Regions from separate parts of the Homo sapiens genome. Here regions 2 and 3 are each linked to region 1. Evidence: promoter capture Hi-C in human tissues and cell types (Jung and others, 2019). All regions are on one chromosome and are shown on one strand. The core of a region is centred on a gene start or on the middle of the fragment in contact, and the rest is flanking DNA. Distances in the headings are between cores, read along the strand shown.

Region 1 (4,675 bases), core at 1,713-4,212:
GCGAGTCTCTGAGCATCTCCCACCCTCTGGCCCTCAGATGTGAGGATGCGCTGCGGAAAAATAAGGCCCTGATTGGGCCGGACCAGAAGGAGTACCACCGTGAGCTGGAGCGCAACTACTGCCGCCTGCGGGAGGCTCTGCAGCCCCTGCTTACCCAGCGCCTGCCCCAGCTGATGGCACCCACCCCACCCGGCCTCAGGTGCCTGACCTAGTGCCCCCATCCTAGAGACTAGAGAGGGGATGCAGAGGCAGACCAGGACAGGTACAGGATGGGGGCTGTTGTACACATACACAGCAACATGTTTGCTGGTAGCTTGGACTTTGTTTTGTTTCCGGTTTTTTTTTTGTTTTTTTTTTTGAGAGACTCTCCCTCTGTTGCCCAGGCTGGAGTGCAGTTGGCACAGTCTTGGCTCACTGCAACCTCCGCCTCCCAGATTCAAGCGAGTCTCCTGCCTCAGCCTCCTGAGTAACTGGGATTACAGGCATCTGCCACCACGCCTGGCTAATGTTTTGTATTTTTAGTAGAGACAGGGTTTCACCATGTTGGCCAGACTGGTCTCGAACTCCTGATCTCAGGTGATCCATCCGCTTTGCCCTCCTAAAGTGCTGGAATTACAGCATGAGCCACCACCACGCCTGGCTGCGGTGGCTTCAATTTTGCATAAGCATCTGAATATGTCATCCAGATGTACAAAGGCAGGGCAGGCTCTGAGCAGTCATTTCCCAGATACATGAATTCATCTTTCTGAGCCTCAGTTTCTACATCTGTAAAATGGGGATGATTCATACCTTCCGTGGTGGACTGCAAGAGAGAATCGGAGAATCCCACAGCCAGATCAGGGACAGGAGAGATCCCAGAAGGATCCTTGGAGGAAGACGAGGAGGAGGAGGAAGAGGATGTGGGCTGGGAGGTCTATGGAGTTGGGGGCCCCATGGCCATGCTGACCCACCCTCATTCTTTTTCCAGGAACTCCTTGAACAGAGCAAGTTTCCGAAAGGCAGACCTCTGAGCCCACAAGGACCAAAGCTGTACCTAGAGGAACCAGCACCCGGGCCTCAGCTGTCTGTGCTGCGAGGGGAGTCTGCCCTGGTGCCCACTGGGCTGTGGGGTGACCACACTGTACTTGGGGCTGGGCCCTCTGCCCCTGTGTCCCCATCTGTGTGCACTGATGCTTCCTCCCTTTTTTAATTTAAAATGGTTTTTATAAGCAACCTGTGCCATGTGGTGCGGTCACTAGGGGCTGGGTCACATGCTCATCACATGCTCACAGTCCACTGCCCCATATCCACACATCCCTGCATCATCAATGGGGACACCAAGAACATACTGGGTGCCAGGGACATCGTGGTGACAACAGGCAAAAATTCCTGCCCTTGTGGAGCTGATGTTCTAGTAGGGAAGGCAACACACAAATAATGTCACATGCTTACCTGCAATAACAATACCTGGTTTTTGTTTGTTTGTTTTTAACAGACGCTCTCACTCAGTCCCCCAGGCTGGAATGCAGTGTCACAGTCATAGCTCACTGCAGCCTCAAACTCCGGGGCTCAAGCCTCCTGAGTAGCAGAGATTATAGGCACATGCCACTGTGCCTGGCTTTTTTTTCTTTTTCTTTTTTTTTTTTTTAGACAGAGTTTCACTCTGTCACCCAGGCTGCAGTGCAGTGGTGCAATCTCGGCTCACGGCAACCTCCACCTCCCAGATTCAAGTTATTCTCATACCTCAGCCTCCCGAGTAGCTGGGATTACAGATGTGCACCACCATGCCAGGATAGTTTTTGTATTTTTAGTAGAGAAGGGGTTTCACCATGTTGGCCAGGCTGGTCTTGAACTCCTGACCTCAGATGATCCACCCACCTCGGACTCCCAAAGTGCTGGGATTACAGGCATGAGCCATTTCTCGGCCCCAGGTGGTTTTTTGTATTTTGTTTTTTGTAGAGATGGCGTCTTACCATATTGCCAAAGCTGGTCTCCAACTCCTTGGCTCAAATAATCCGCCCACCTTGGCCTCCCAAAGTGCTACGATTACAGGCATGAGCCACTGCGCCTGGCCTAATTTTTTTTCACTTAAAAATTTTTTTGCATAGACAGGGTCTTGCTATGTTGCCCAGGCTGGTCTCGAACTCCTGAGTTCAAGCAGTCCTCTTGCCTTGGCCTCCCTAAGCACTGAGATTACAGGTGTGAGCCACCTCGCCGGCTTAATAATATTTATTAAGCCCTTGCTGAGTGGCTGGCTGTGTACTAAAAGGGCTCCCAGAAAGATCTCTGCAAAAGTAGGCCACTCCATTTATGAGAGTTTTTAACCCGAAGGGCCTCCTTCCTGATGGTTAGGCCCCTTCCTAATGGTCAGTGAATCTTCTCAACGCTCCTATCAGGTAGCTAACATGATCATCTCCATTTTACAGATGAATAAACTGAGGCACAGAGCAGCAAAAGTTTGGTGGGTCTGGGATGGGAATGCAGGTCTGGCTGGCGCCGGCGCCCAGGACTCTGCAGCCTCCCTTCTCGCGCGGCGGTCACGCCACCGTGTGCCAGGACTGCGCTGGGCCGCTTCCAGCCCTGGGCCGCCTGGGGGAGGGGTGACCTCCCGCTGCCGCGCCCGCCCCGCGCGCCCTCCCCGAGCTGGGCCCCGGCCAGCTCCACCCCCTCCCGCCGCCGAGCCGTTCCGCCCCCCGCAGCGGCCCAGGGACAGCAGGCGGTGGGGGGGAGGCCGGCAGTGGGAGGACCCTGCCTCGGGGACTTAGGGAGGAAGGAAGGACGAGGCCGGACACCCCGGCGCGCACACACACCTGCTGTCCAGGTGAGATCCAGTCTCCAACCAGCGTCTCTCCATCCCCACCCCCCACCGCGGCCGGGGCGCCCGGGCGGCTGGAGGGGGCGGTGCCGGCTGGGGGGGCGGGACCAGCCGGAGGGGGCGTGGTGCGGGCGGAGCCACCTCCGAGGGCCGGGCGCCCAGGCTGCGGCGCGCGCGAAGACGCTCGGGCGGCGGGACCCAGGGAAGGCAGCGGCCGGAGCGCGCAAGGCGAGTGGGACCCGGGGCTGGGTAGGGGTTCAAGTCTGGTTCGGGGATCGAGTGTGCACCCCCTCCACACACACCTACTACCCTACCCCCCGCCTCCAACCCTGGGACACGACCTCGCTGGTCTCAACGAGCCGCTGCCTCCAACTCCACCTTCTGTGCCCAAACTTTCCAGACTTGGAGTGTCTGTCCCCGCGTCCCTGCCCCCTCCTCGTCTTTGACCCCATACCCCCATCGATTCCTCCCAGTACCCCCCATCGATTCCTCGTGCCCTGCCCGTTTCTCCTGTCTTGGCTCCCCTCTGCCCGCTCTCCCCTGTCTCTGTCCCACTTTCTGCCTCTGTTCCTCCCCGGCTCTGCCCTCTCCCCGCACTGTCCCCCCTCGCCCTCCTCCGCGGCCATGCCCCAGACGGCGGGAAGGCGGCCGGGCGTCCGGCCGGGCTGGGCCTGGGCTTGGCGGCTGGGCCGGCGTGGGGAGCGGCAGCTGTTTGCCATTAGCCCGGGATCCCACAGGCCCCGCCCCCTCTCTGCACGGGGCGGGGTCCTTCTCGCCTCCCCCCACCCCGAGTTTGGGGCGGGAAGACCCCCCCCCACCACCACCACCGACCTCCGCGATGTGCAGGCCGGTCTTGGGTGGTGGGTTGGGGAGACCCGCGCCCCTTCCCTGCGCTCCCTACCTGTCCCCTCTTATAGGCTCCAGTCTCTCCATCTCTGTCTTATCCTGTCACCCCTTCCCCATTCCCCAGGGGTCCCATGGCGAGAGAAGGGTCTCAGCCACAGACATCCATCTCCCCCACCACACCCCCTCGTCTCCTTTCTCTTCCCCTTACTCGGGACGTGCTGGTCCTCATCGAGGGCGGTGAGATGACTGAGTACCCTCAGACCTCAGTCTCCGTATCTGGGAAACGGGTAGAGATATCTGATGTGGAGTCTGAGGGTGGTGGCTTGGTGGGCAGTGGGGGGATCCACCAGGCTTAGGTTCATGTTCAGGCCCAGCCACTTCCCCATGGCCCCAGTGACCCCGAGGAAGCCACTGTACCTTTCTGTACCCTCTGCATCCCCTGTCTGTGAAACGGGGCGATAAGTGCCCATCTCATAGAATTGTCATGACAATTAAAAGAGTTGATGTTAGGCTGGGTGCAGTGGCTCATGCCTGTAATCCCAGCACTTTGGGAGGCCAAGGCGGGCGGATCACCTGAGGTCAGGAGTTCGAGACCAGCCTGACCAACATGGAGAAACACCATCTCTACTAAAAATACAGAATTAGCTAGGCGTGGTGGCAGGTGCCTGTAATCCCAGCTACTCAGGAGGCTGAGGCAGGAGAATCGCTTGAACCTGGGAGGCAGAGGTTGCCGTGAGCTGAGATCGCGCCATTGCACTCCAGCCTGGGCGACAAGAGCAAAACTCCGTCTCAGAAAAAAAAAAAAAAAAGAGTTGATGTTAGTATTACTGTTACTATACTATTTACCCAGCAGCACCCTCACTTCCCCCACCCCCAGCCCACCCCGCTCGGCTATTCCAATCCTGCTCCAATCCCGCTTGCTCCCTGCTTCTCCATCTCTCTTTGGTGGCCAGAAAATATTTTCAATCAACTTTCTGTTGCTCAGGGGTGAGCCTCCAGGCAAATGGAAAACGGAATTTCCTGCAATTGGTGACC
Region 2 (4,816 bases), core at 799-3,298, 310 kb after region 1:
AAGCCGTTGTCCAAATGGTACGTCTTGTATTAAATCGCCTCCTGCTGCCAAAGACAACATGGGCTCTTCACCTTCCAGAGGAAAATATTCCCGATCAAAGGAGGAGAGTTAGGTAAAAAGAGGGAGACACCCCGACCCCCCGTGGCCAACTCCCATCCCACAGGCACGGAAAAAAAAACACGCTTTCTGAAGCCCACTCAGCTGGCATCTCTGCTCAGCCTGCTCTGCCCGGACCACATGCAGGCACAGAGGACCTGGCGGTGAACCAGAGAGCCACCCCCGGCCCTCCCATGCTGGGAGTCCACAGTGGGAGGCAGACAGCACCCAGCAGGGCAGTGAGGAGACGGACAACAGGAACTGGCAGTAAGCGCTGAGAGGAGGGAAAGCACGGAAGCTGATGCATGCGGACCAGGCCCAATTCAGATTCCAGGCAGACTCGGGAGGAGGCGACACCTGAGCCAGGCCCCACTGCCCTGGCAGAGGTGACCTTGTTTCCAAACTGGGAACCAGAAGCTTCCCCCCATTCCTGTGTGGCTTGGCACCCATGTGCCCAAGAGGCGGCAGAGATGACCCTAGGGTCACCCAGCAGGGAGATGGCTGAAAGGATGGGCTTTGGCATCAAGGAGGACTTAGGTTTATCAAGGAGGGACTGGGTTCAGGGCCGAACCCACTGTTCTCCAGCCCTGGCCTTGGCTTCCTCATCTGTTCAACCACCACCCTGACACATCCCAAAGGGTGAGGTGACATAACCCACGTGGAGGGCCTGACAGCCCGGCCCCAGGGCACCATCCTGGAACTTCACTAGGTCAGAGCCCACATGCAGCAGAGTCTGGCAGGGCTTGGATCCCCCGAACTAGCACCTGCCTTCACCCCTGGCCTCAGGAGCCCCATCTATAAAATGGGCACAATGACAGGGGGCGGTGGCTCACGCCTGTAATCTCAGCCCTTTGGGAGGCCAAGGCAGGCGGGTCACAAGGTCAGGAGATCGAGACCATCCTGGCTAACACGGTGAAAACCTATCTCTACTAAAAATAAAAAAAATTAGCCGGGCGTGGTAGCGGGTGCCTGTAGTCCCAGCTACTCAGGAGGCTGAGGCAGGAGAATCACTTGAAGCCAGGAGGTGGAGGTTGCAGTGAGCCGAGATCGCACCACTGCACTCCAACCTGGGGGAGAGAGTAAGACTCTGTCTCAAAATGAAATAAAATAGGCACAGTGGGGGCAGTGGCTCACGCCTGTAATCCCAGCACTATGGGAGGCCGAAGCAGGTGGATCATGTGAGGTCAGGAGCTCGAGACCAGCCTGGCCAACATGGTGAAACCCCGTCTCTACTCAAAATATAAAATTAGCCAGGCATGGTGGTACATGCCTGTAATCCCAGCAACTCGGGAGGCTAAGGCAGGAGAATCACTTGAACCTGGGAGGCAGAGGTTGCATTCCACTCCAACCTGGGCAAAAAGAGCAAAGCTCCATCTGAAAAAAATAAAAATAAAAATAAATAAATAAAATGGGCAGGGCCGGGAGTGTTGGCTCACGCCTGTAATCCCACCACTTTGGGAGGCTGAGGCGGGTGGATCACCTGAGGTCAGGAGTTTGAGACCAGCCTGGCCAACATGGTGAAACCCCATCTTTACCGAAAAATACAAAAAATTAGCCAGACATGGTGGCGGGCACCTGTAATCCCAGCTACTCAAGAGGCTGAGGCAGCAGAATCACTTCAACCCAGGAGGCAGAGGTTGCAGTGAGCAGAAATCGTGCCATAGCACTCCAGCCTGGGCAACAAGAGCAAAACCCTGCCTCAAAAAATAAAATAATATAAATAAAATAGGCACAAAATGGGGATGAAAACCCCTCCCTGCAGTGAGGATTCCTAGGTAATGGAGGGAGCTGGAGGTGTTAAGTACTTCATAAACAAGAGCAGCTGCTGTTACCATCATCAGCAACAGATCAATGCCAGCCTCGGAAGAGAATCCCAAACCCCAGAACCCTAACCCGGCCTGGCCTCCCTCTCCTGCCGTAACCTGAGTCGGATCCTCCGATGTCGTCCTCGGAGAAGCTCTGGAGCAGCTGTTCCACTGTGCTGCCCAGCCCCGGGTATCTGAGGACCATGAGGTCACCCTGGGCTCCTCTGGCGCAGCCCTGGCCTCTGGGCGAATCCCAACCCCACTCCAGCACCGGAGCTGGGTGTCCAGGAGCCCTGCAGCCATGGCCCTGAACGGGCACTTCCCCAGCACATCAGAACTATGTCTGAGCAACTGATCAAAAACTTCCGGCCCAGAAATCCCTTTGCAGGGCCTTATGTATGCTACAAGCTCTACTTGCAGAGATACACCTGGATCTGAATGCCCCCAAAGCAGAAAACCTAAATATCCATCAATTAATCAAAGAATGAATAAATGAAGATGTGGCAAATTAAAAGAGATCAATTTCCATCGGTACACACTGACATGTTAAATGATCGAGCCACAACGTAAGGCACAGAGTGGTGTAAAACCTACGCACCACAGGTGTACAGATGGGCGGGGAAGGGACAGAGGGAGGAGGGGCAGTGCACACTGCATTCATGGGGCTTGTCTGGAAACACAATAAAGTGACTTCAGTGCTGCCTCCGGGAAGCAAGTCATACTTTTCAATCCGCACCCTCCTTTGCCATTGTGTGAACGTGCATAACTTGAAGCCCAGCAGGTTGGAGGAGAGATTTATGCGTGCGCGCTTGTATGTGCCTGAGAAACCACAGGTCACGGGCAGTGCGGAGAGAAGGAGAGACTGACTTTTCATGTTACACCCTCCTGAGTGGCTTGAATTTCTCCCTTGTACATGAAAGATAGCCAGACAAAAGGCAATGGCGAAGGCTGGGGGCGGGAGGGCCGGCGTCTACGCAAGTTATCTGGGCCCCTCCCTAGAGTGGGCAGGCCGGACTGGGGACCACCCCCCCAACATCCTTTTGGACCCTGCTGGCTGGGGGAGGGGAGTGGGAACAGGCCCTGAGCCTCTTCTGTGACCCAGCTGGAGGCTGGCGGACAGCCCTGCTTTCCTCAGCTTGGAATCTCCCAGAACAAGCCCTGCACCCACCCCACGGCCCTCAGTGGGTGTGATGGACGTGGGGCAGTCAGCCCAAGGGCATCGGGGCTCCCTGACCTGCATTCCAGCAAGGGAGGCCTCCCAAACGAGCCAGGTGCAGTAAGATCCAGGTTTGAACCTGAGCTCTGCCACCTGCAAGCAAGGGACCATCACCTCCCGACACCTCAGCTTTAGTGTCTAGAAAAATAAAATAACACATGGTTCACTGTGTAGCCATGAGGACGAACCCACCCATGCCCGGCCCAAGACCCACGGGCACACAGTAGTGTGGCATTGGCACAAAACACCAGTCTTGGTTCCTGTGTCCCCACAGTGCTCCGGCTCAAGGCAAAGGGTCGAGAGAAGGAGCCACCGAGAGAGTTCTGGACACAAGGCCATATTGGGCCCAGAACAAGTGTCTGGCCCTGTCCCCCAGGTGGCCACCCCTGGGACCCAACCCATCTGGCACGTGGCTGACAGAGAATCAGCTTCACACACTGCTTGGGAACACTGACTCAGTTTTGGTCTCCCTCTGTCACCCAGGCTGGAGTGCAATGGCCCGCCCAGTCATAGCACACTGCAGCCTCGACCTCCTGTGCTCAAGAAGCAATCCTCCCACCTCCGCCTCCTAAGGAGCTGGGACTTCAGGAAGGATAGAGCTATACCAAGAAAAAAAAAAAAAAAAAAAAAAAAATATATATATATATATATATATGTGTGTGTGTATATGTGTGTGTGTATATGCATGTGTATATATGTGTCTATATATTCATGTGTATATATGTGTGTGTATATATGTGTGTATATATGTATATACGTATACACATATATACGTATATACATATACATATATATATGTAAATAAAACAAAGTAGCTGGGACCACAGGTATGTACCACCACACAAAACTAATTTTTAGGCTAGGCGCGGTGGGGTGGCTCACACCTGTAATCCCAGCACTTTGGGAGGCCGAGGCAGGTGGATCACCCGAGGTCAGGAGTTTGAAACCAGTCTGGCCAACATGGTAAAACCCCATCTCTACTAAAAATACAAAAATTAGCCAGGTGTAGTGGTGGGCGCCTGTAATCCCAGCTACTTGGGAGGCTAAGACAGGAGAATCACTTGAACCCGGGAGGCGGAGGTTGCAGTGAGCCAAGATCGCGCCACTGCACTCCAGCCTGGACAACAAGAGCGAAACTCTGTCTCAAAAAAAAAAAAAAACAAACAAAACAAAAAACAAAAAAACCACCTAATTTTTATATTTTTTGTAGAGACAGGGTCTCCCTATGTTGCCCAGGCTGGTCTCAAACTCCTGGGCTCAAGCAATCCACCTGCCTCAGCCACCTGAGTACCTGGGACCCCAGGCTTGCATGCACCACCATGGAAGGCTAATTTTTTATTTTTCTGTAGAGATGGGGTCTTGCTATGTTGCCCACGCTGGTCTCAAACTCCCAGCCTTAGGCGATCCTCCCGCCTCAACATTTACATCCCACCTGTAAAGTTTAAGCTTTACAGGTTACAGGTTAGCTTTTCAGGCCATTTATGGCCCCTCCAAAAGCCGACCACCAGAGTTAGTATAAAGCTGTTCCCTGGGGAGGGGATTGGATGGGGGGCTTCATTCCATGGGCAAGGTTTCCTTAAAATGAGGGTGGGAAGTGCACAGGTGTTGGCTGCATTCGTCTTCATTCCTTCAAAAATATTTCATGAGAAAAAACAGCCACCTCTTCTGCTGGCCCAAAAGGCCAGGGTCCACGGTTGGA
Region 3 (4,816 bases), core at 1,689-4,188, 280 kb after region 1:
ATGTCAAAGCAAAGGGAAATAAGTGCAGGAGGGCAAGGTGGGCGGTGCACACTCAGTGCGCTTGTGAAATTGGCCAACTCCTGAGCTTTGAGCGAGGCAGGGCATCAGAGGCTAAGACACCAAGCAGAAAGCCGCTAATAAGAGGCTCAACGCCAGGTGCAGTGGCTTATGCCTATAATCCCAGCACTTTGGGAGGCCGAGGCGGACGGATCACCTGAGGTCAGGAGTTCAAGACCAGCCTGAGTAACACAGTGAGGCCCCATATCTACAAAAAAATAAATTAGCCGGGCATGGTGGCACACTCCTATAGTTCCAGCTACTTGGGAAGCTGAGGCAGGAGGATCACTTGCGTCTGGGAGATCGAGGCTGAAGTAAGCCATGAAGTGATTGAGCCACTGTACTCCAGCCTGGGGAACAGAGTGAGATCCTGTTTCAAAAAACAATAAAAGCTAACGGGTGGTTCAGCAGCATATTGGTAATGAGGCTAACCACTGGACTTGCATTAACATTACCAAAGGCTGTACCATAAAGCAGCACCTTCTCAAACTGTGGCCTCTTCCAAGGCACCCTCATCATAATACAAAATTTGCATAATACCACCAAAATATTTCCTGCTTTTTTCACTCATTCACTCCCCAGTGATATCACAAAAGACTGAACACGCTGGGCATGGTGGCTCACGCCTGTAATCCCAGCACTTTGGGAGGCCGAGGCAGGCGGATCACCTAAGGTCAGGAGTTTCAGACCAGCCTGGCCAACATGGCGAAACCCCATCTCTACTAAAATTACAAAAAACTAGCTGGGAGTGGTGGCAAGCGCCTGTACTCCCAGCTACTCAGGAGTCTGAGAATCGCTTGAGCCCGGAAAGTGGAGGTTGCAGTGAGCTGACATCATGCCACAGCACTCCAGCCTGGGCAACAGAGCAAGACTCCGTCTCAAAAAAAAAAAAAAAAAGAAAAAGAAAATGAGAGAAAAAAATGGATGGAAAAGACAGAAAAGAGTATAACAATCATCTGAGATATGGTGAAAAGGTTCACTGTACACGTAATTGGAATCCCAGAAGGAGAAAGAATGGGGCAGACGTAGTGTTTAAAGAGATAGTATCCAAGATAGTCCAAGAGTCTCCCAAAACGAATGAAAAACATCAAGAGCAGGGGGAAAACAGAATAAAATGGAACCTTTTTTTCTTTTTTTTTGAGACGGAGTCTCACTCTGTCGCCCAGGCTGGAGTGCAGTGGTGCGATCTCGGCTCACTGCAAGCTCTGCCTCCCGGGTTCACGCCATTCTCCTGCCTCAGCCTCCTGAGTAGCTGGGACTACAGGCGCCCGCCACCACGTCTGGCTAATTTTTTGTATTTTTAGTAGAGATGGGGTTTCACCGTGTTGGTCTCAATCTCCTAACCTCGTGATCTGCCCGCCTTGGCCTCCCAAAGTGCTGGGATTACAGGTGTGACCCACTGCACCTAGCTTTTTTTTCCTTTTGATTTTTAAATCATGGATCTATGTATCAAAAATCTCAAGTAAAATCAATCAATAAATCACATCAGCTCACCAAGGATAAATTCATCTAGTAATGGTTCTTTTTTATTTTTATTATTTATTTATTTTAATTTTAAAAATAGCGATGGCGTCTCTGTGTTGCCCAGGCTGATCTTGAACTCCTGAGCCTAAATGCCCCCTCTGCCTTAGCCTCACCTAATAATGTTCCACATGTATTGCATGTGTGCTGTGTGCTAAGTGTCTACATGCATTGACACTTTTGGCCCAAATCTCTGTGAGAGCGCTGTGCAGGGCAGAGGAGAGGGCTCAGAGAGGGGCTGTAGCTTCCTGAGGGCTGCACAGCTGCACAGCAATGGCAAGTGATCACTGCAGCAGTACCCTGGAGGCCCTACTCACCACCACAGGCTGCCGGAAATACTCATCCACCGCGGCACCTCGGAGGGCCGACAGGTCCACTCCATGGAAAGATGGCTGGTACCTGTGGACAGGCCCCACCCCCACAGCAAGGTCAGGGCTGCAGAAGAGGCAGGTGGGGTAGCCCTGCCTTCTCTCCCAGTCAGCCCTCATCTAGCCCAAGTCTTTCAGAAAAAGAGGAGTGCAGGCTCTCTGGGGAGCTGGGGCTGTCCCTGAGAAGGCAGGCTGTGGGGCCCAGGCGGGACACCCAGGGCACACTCACCAGAAGTTGGCCTTGGTGAACTGCTCCATGTAGAGCTGTTCATCCGTGAAGGGTGCAAGGTGGACGTCACCAATGGTAGGAAACATGTTTCCTGGGAGTGGGGCAGGGAGGGGTGCTGGCGTCAGGTGACACATCCCACACTGCCTGGCAGAGCTTCCAAAGGACCCCAAGACCCCCAACCCTGGGTGCTCCCAGCCTGTCATCCATTCGTTCCTGCACTCCTGTGACAGTGGCACCGAGCGCCTATTCTGATCAGTGTTTCATCACCACCACGGGTACCTGACCTGCACCAGCTCACGAATTCCACCTGAGACTGGGAGGCTGGTGGCTCATCTTTATGTCCTATTACTAGACCTGGCAGGTGTGAGGGACCTGCCAAAGACTCACGGGGAAGCAGGCAGTGCCCGGGATGTGGCCAGGCGCTGCCTCTCAGGCCCTGCCGTCTGTGCATGTGTGCAGCCGGGAAAGCATAGCAAAGTTGCTCTGGACAGAGGGAGGGTGGTGGGCCCCGGGCTACCCCAACGCCGCTGGGGACCTCAGTTGAGGCCAAGAGCCAGGTGGGGGAAGCCAAATCCACACCACAGGGACTGCCTAGGTTCTGGCACAGGCACCCAGCCGGCAGGATGGGCCACTTGGCCTGCCTGGTCTGGGCACACAGACTGAGGGAAGGGCAGGGCCTCCCTCTGTGACTCAAGGGTAGACGCATGAGTCAGGGCCAGTGGCAGGGAGGATCAGGGCCCCGCAGCCCCGCCTGCCCCAAGGAGCACCTGGCCTCCAGATGTGGGCCCCCCAGCCTTGCAAGCTGGGGGAGGAGATCCTGAGGTATCAGTGGGACTCTGCCTCCTCCTTACGCCACCAGGCTGTACCCGAGGCGAGAGCTGCAGGGCTGCAGCTGCTGGAACGGGGAGGGAGATGCACATGCTGCGGCTTCTGCCCTGGGGGACCTGGGGGCACCATGGGAAGTGACCCAGCCTGGAAGGAACCTCTGGCTCCTGCTGACCAGAAGACATGTGACTGGGAGAGGGGAGGGCTGCCTTTAACCCCTGGAAGAGCTTCCTGAGCTGGACAGGAGTCCTCCTTGCACAGGCCTGGCCTCCCCCCTCCCTGCAAGCTGGCTGCTGGGACGTCGGGGGCACATGCAGCTGCCCACAGAGCCTGACTGCCATCTGGCTTCATGTCCCATCGGGAGGGGCCCTCTCTGCTGGGGCTGTCCCCACCCCCATCCCCACCATCAGGGCAGAAGGGGAGGAGAGTGGGGCCCACAGCCCCTGGAGCAGCCTTGCTTCCCATACTCACACCCAAGACATGAGACACAGCTGTGGGACGCCACCTCCCACCTCCAGGAGCACAGCCAGCCAGGACCCTAGGGCCTGGATCCAGGGCGGGCCAGAGATGAGAGTGGAAGCTTCCCCCCTGCCCCTGCCTGCACAAGCCCCACCAGCCTGCTGCTGCCCACGCTCCATCCCATGGCTGCTACCCTGGCTGGGGACCTGTACCCTGCCACACGCACACACAGCTGCTTGCCTGTACAGAAATGCTCAGACGCTCACATACCTAGCATGAGAAGAGCCACAGGCACATGCCTCAGGCGTCAGGGCTGCACAGACCCCAAGACAGATGGGCAAATAGAAACAGTCACCCAGGCCAGGCACAGTGGCTCATGCCTATAATCCCAACACTTTGGGAGGCTGAGGCGGGTAGATCACCTGAGGTCAGGAGTTCGTGACCAGCCTGACCAACACGGTGAAACCCCATCTCTACTAAAAATACAAAACTTAGCTGGGCGTGGTGGTGCACACCTGTAATCCCAGCTACTCAGGAGGCTGAAGCACAAAAATTGCTTGAACTGGGGAGGTGCAGGTTGCAGTGAGCCGAGATCGCACCACTGCACTCCAGCCTTGGCAACAAGAGTGAAACTCTGTCTCAAAAAAAGAAACAGTCACCCAGTGACCAGAGGCCATACCCAGAGGCACGGATGGGAAGTGACAGATGGGCTTGCCAGACAGCTACCTCACCTCCTCACACACGTACACTCGCACCCACACCCCTGCATTTGCACACATGCTCGCCCACCCCACCTCCTGGACTGTGAGGAGAGCAGGGCTTGTTGGGGAACTGCTGACCACAGAACCTGTCCCAATCCCCACTCCCAGCCAGAGGCTGTCCCGCAGGAGCAGGACATGGGACGGCAGAGGTGCCAGGAGATCCTGTGTACCCTGTCTGGGCGAGTGGGCAGCTGGGTGTCTGGCCGTGTTTGGGGCCCAGGGCTCCAAAAGCCACAGCTGGCTGGAGTGGGGTTGGGGTGGGAGCGGGGGAAAAGCCCAGGCTTCCCTACACCCCGGGCCACCGACAGTAAGCAGGGAGCTGAAGCACTGATGGCCTGGCTCAGCGGCAGCCAGGGCCTCCACCGAGGGGCCTGGCCTGTGTACCCCCCAGTGCTCACCGCTGGGCTTCAGGTACTTCTTGGCGTGGAGGTAGCTCTCCAGCATGCGCTCGTTGAAGAGCATGTAGCCCATGGGCTCCGAGATGATGATGTCCACCTGCTCGGGGAGTGACACCTCCTCCACCTTGCCCGGGATGACCACGATGCGGTCCGTCAGGTTGTTACTCTTCACCAAGACCTGCAGGCGGGCAGGGCCAT

What was found. The method cuts DNA at HindIII sites, captures the fragments that hold promoters and counts their contacts. A contact is called where the count stands out against the background at its distance.
Region 2: a contact is called between a fragment that was not itself captured here and the fragment with the promoter of KANK2 in region 1, in 2 of the 25 tissues and cell types used here (dorsolateral prefrontal cortex and lymphoblastoid cells).
Region 3: a fragment that was not itself captured here is called in contact with the fragment with the promoter of KANK2 in region 1 in 2 of the 25 tissues and cell types used here (H1 embryonic stem cells and lymphoblastoid cells).

What each region holds. Positions count from the first base shown.
Region 1 is chr19:11,195,832-11,200,506 of GRCh38, reverse strand. It overlaps KANK2 (KN motif and ankyrin repeat domains 2), which reads left to right and starts at 2,962. Exons shown (of 13, transcript NM_001136191.3): 1 at 2,962-3,022. It overlaps DOCK6 (dedicator of cytokinesis 6), which reads left to right. Exons shown (of 48, transcript NM_020812.4): 47 at 38-199; 48 at 968-1,212. The coding sequence ends at 1,010. RefSeq lists a silencer at 2,479-3,098. The HindIII fragment of the contact is 26,033 bases long and covers 1-4,675 here.
Region 2 is chr19:10,889,731-10,894,546 of GRCh38, reverse strand. All of the region lies in intron 1 of CARM1 (coactivator associated arginine methyltransferase 1), which reads right to left. Among named protein-coding and RNA genes, the nearest start is that of CARM1, 21 kb to the right of the region's middle. RefSeq lists an enhancer at 1-540. The HindIII fragment of the contact is 5,985 bases long and covers 1-4,816 here.
Region 3 is chr19:10,913,857-10,918,672 of GRCh38, reverse strand. It overlaps CARM1 (coactivator associated arginine methyltransferase 1), which reads right to left. Exons shown (of 16, transcript NM_199141.2): 6 at 4,619-4,796; 7 at 2,176-2,266; 8 at 1,896-1,977. Among named protein-coding and RNA genes, the nearest start is that of YIPF2, 12 kb to the left of the region's middle. The HindIII fragment of the contact is 8,993 bases long and covers 1-4,816 here.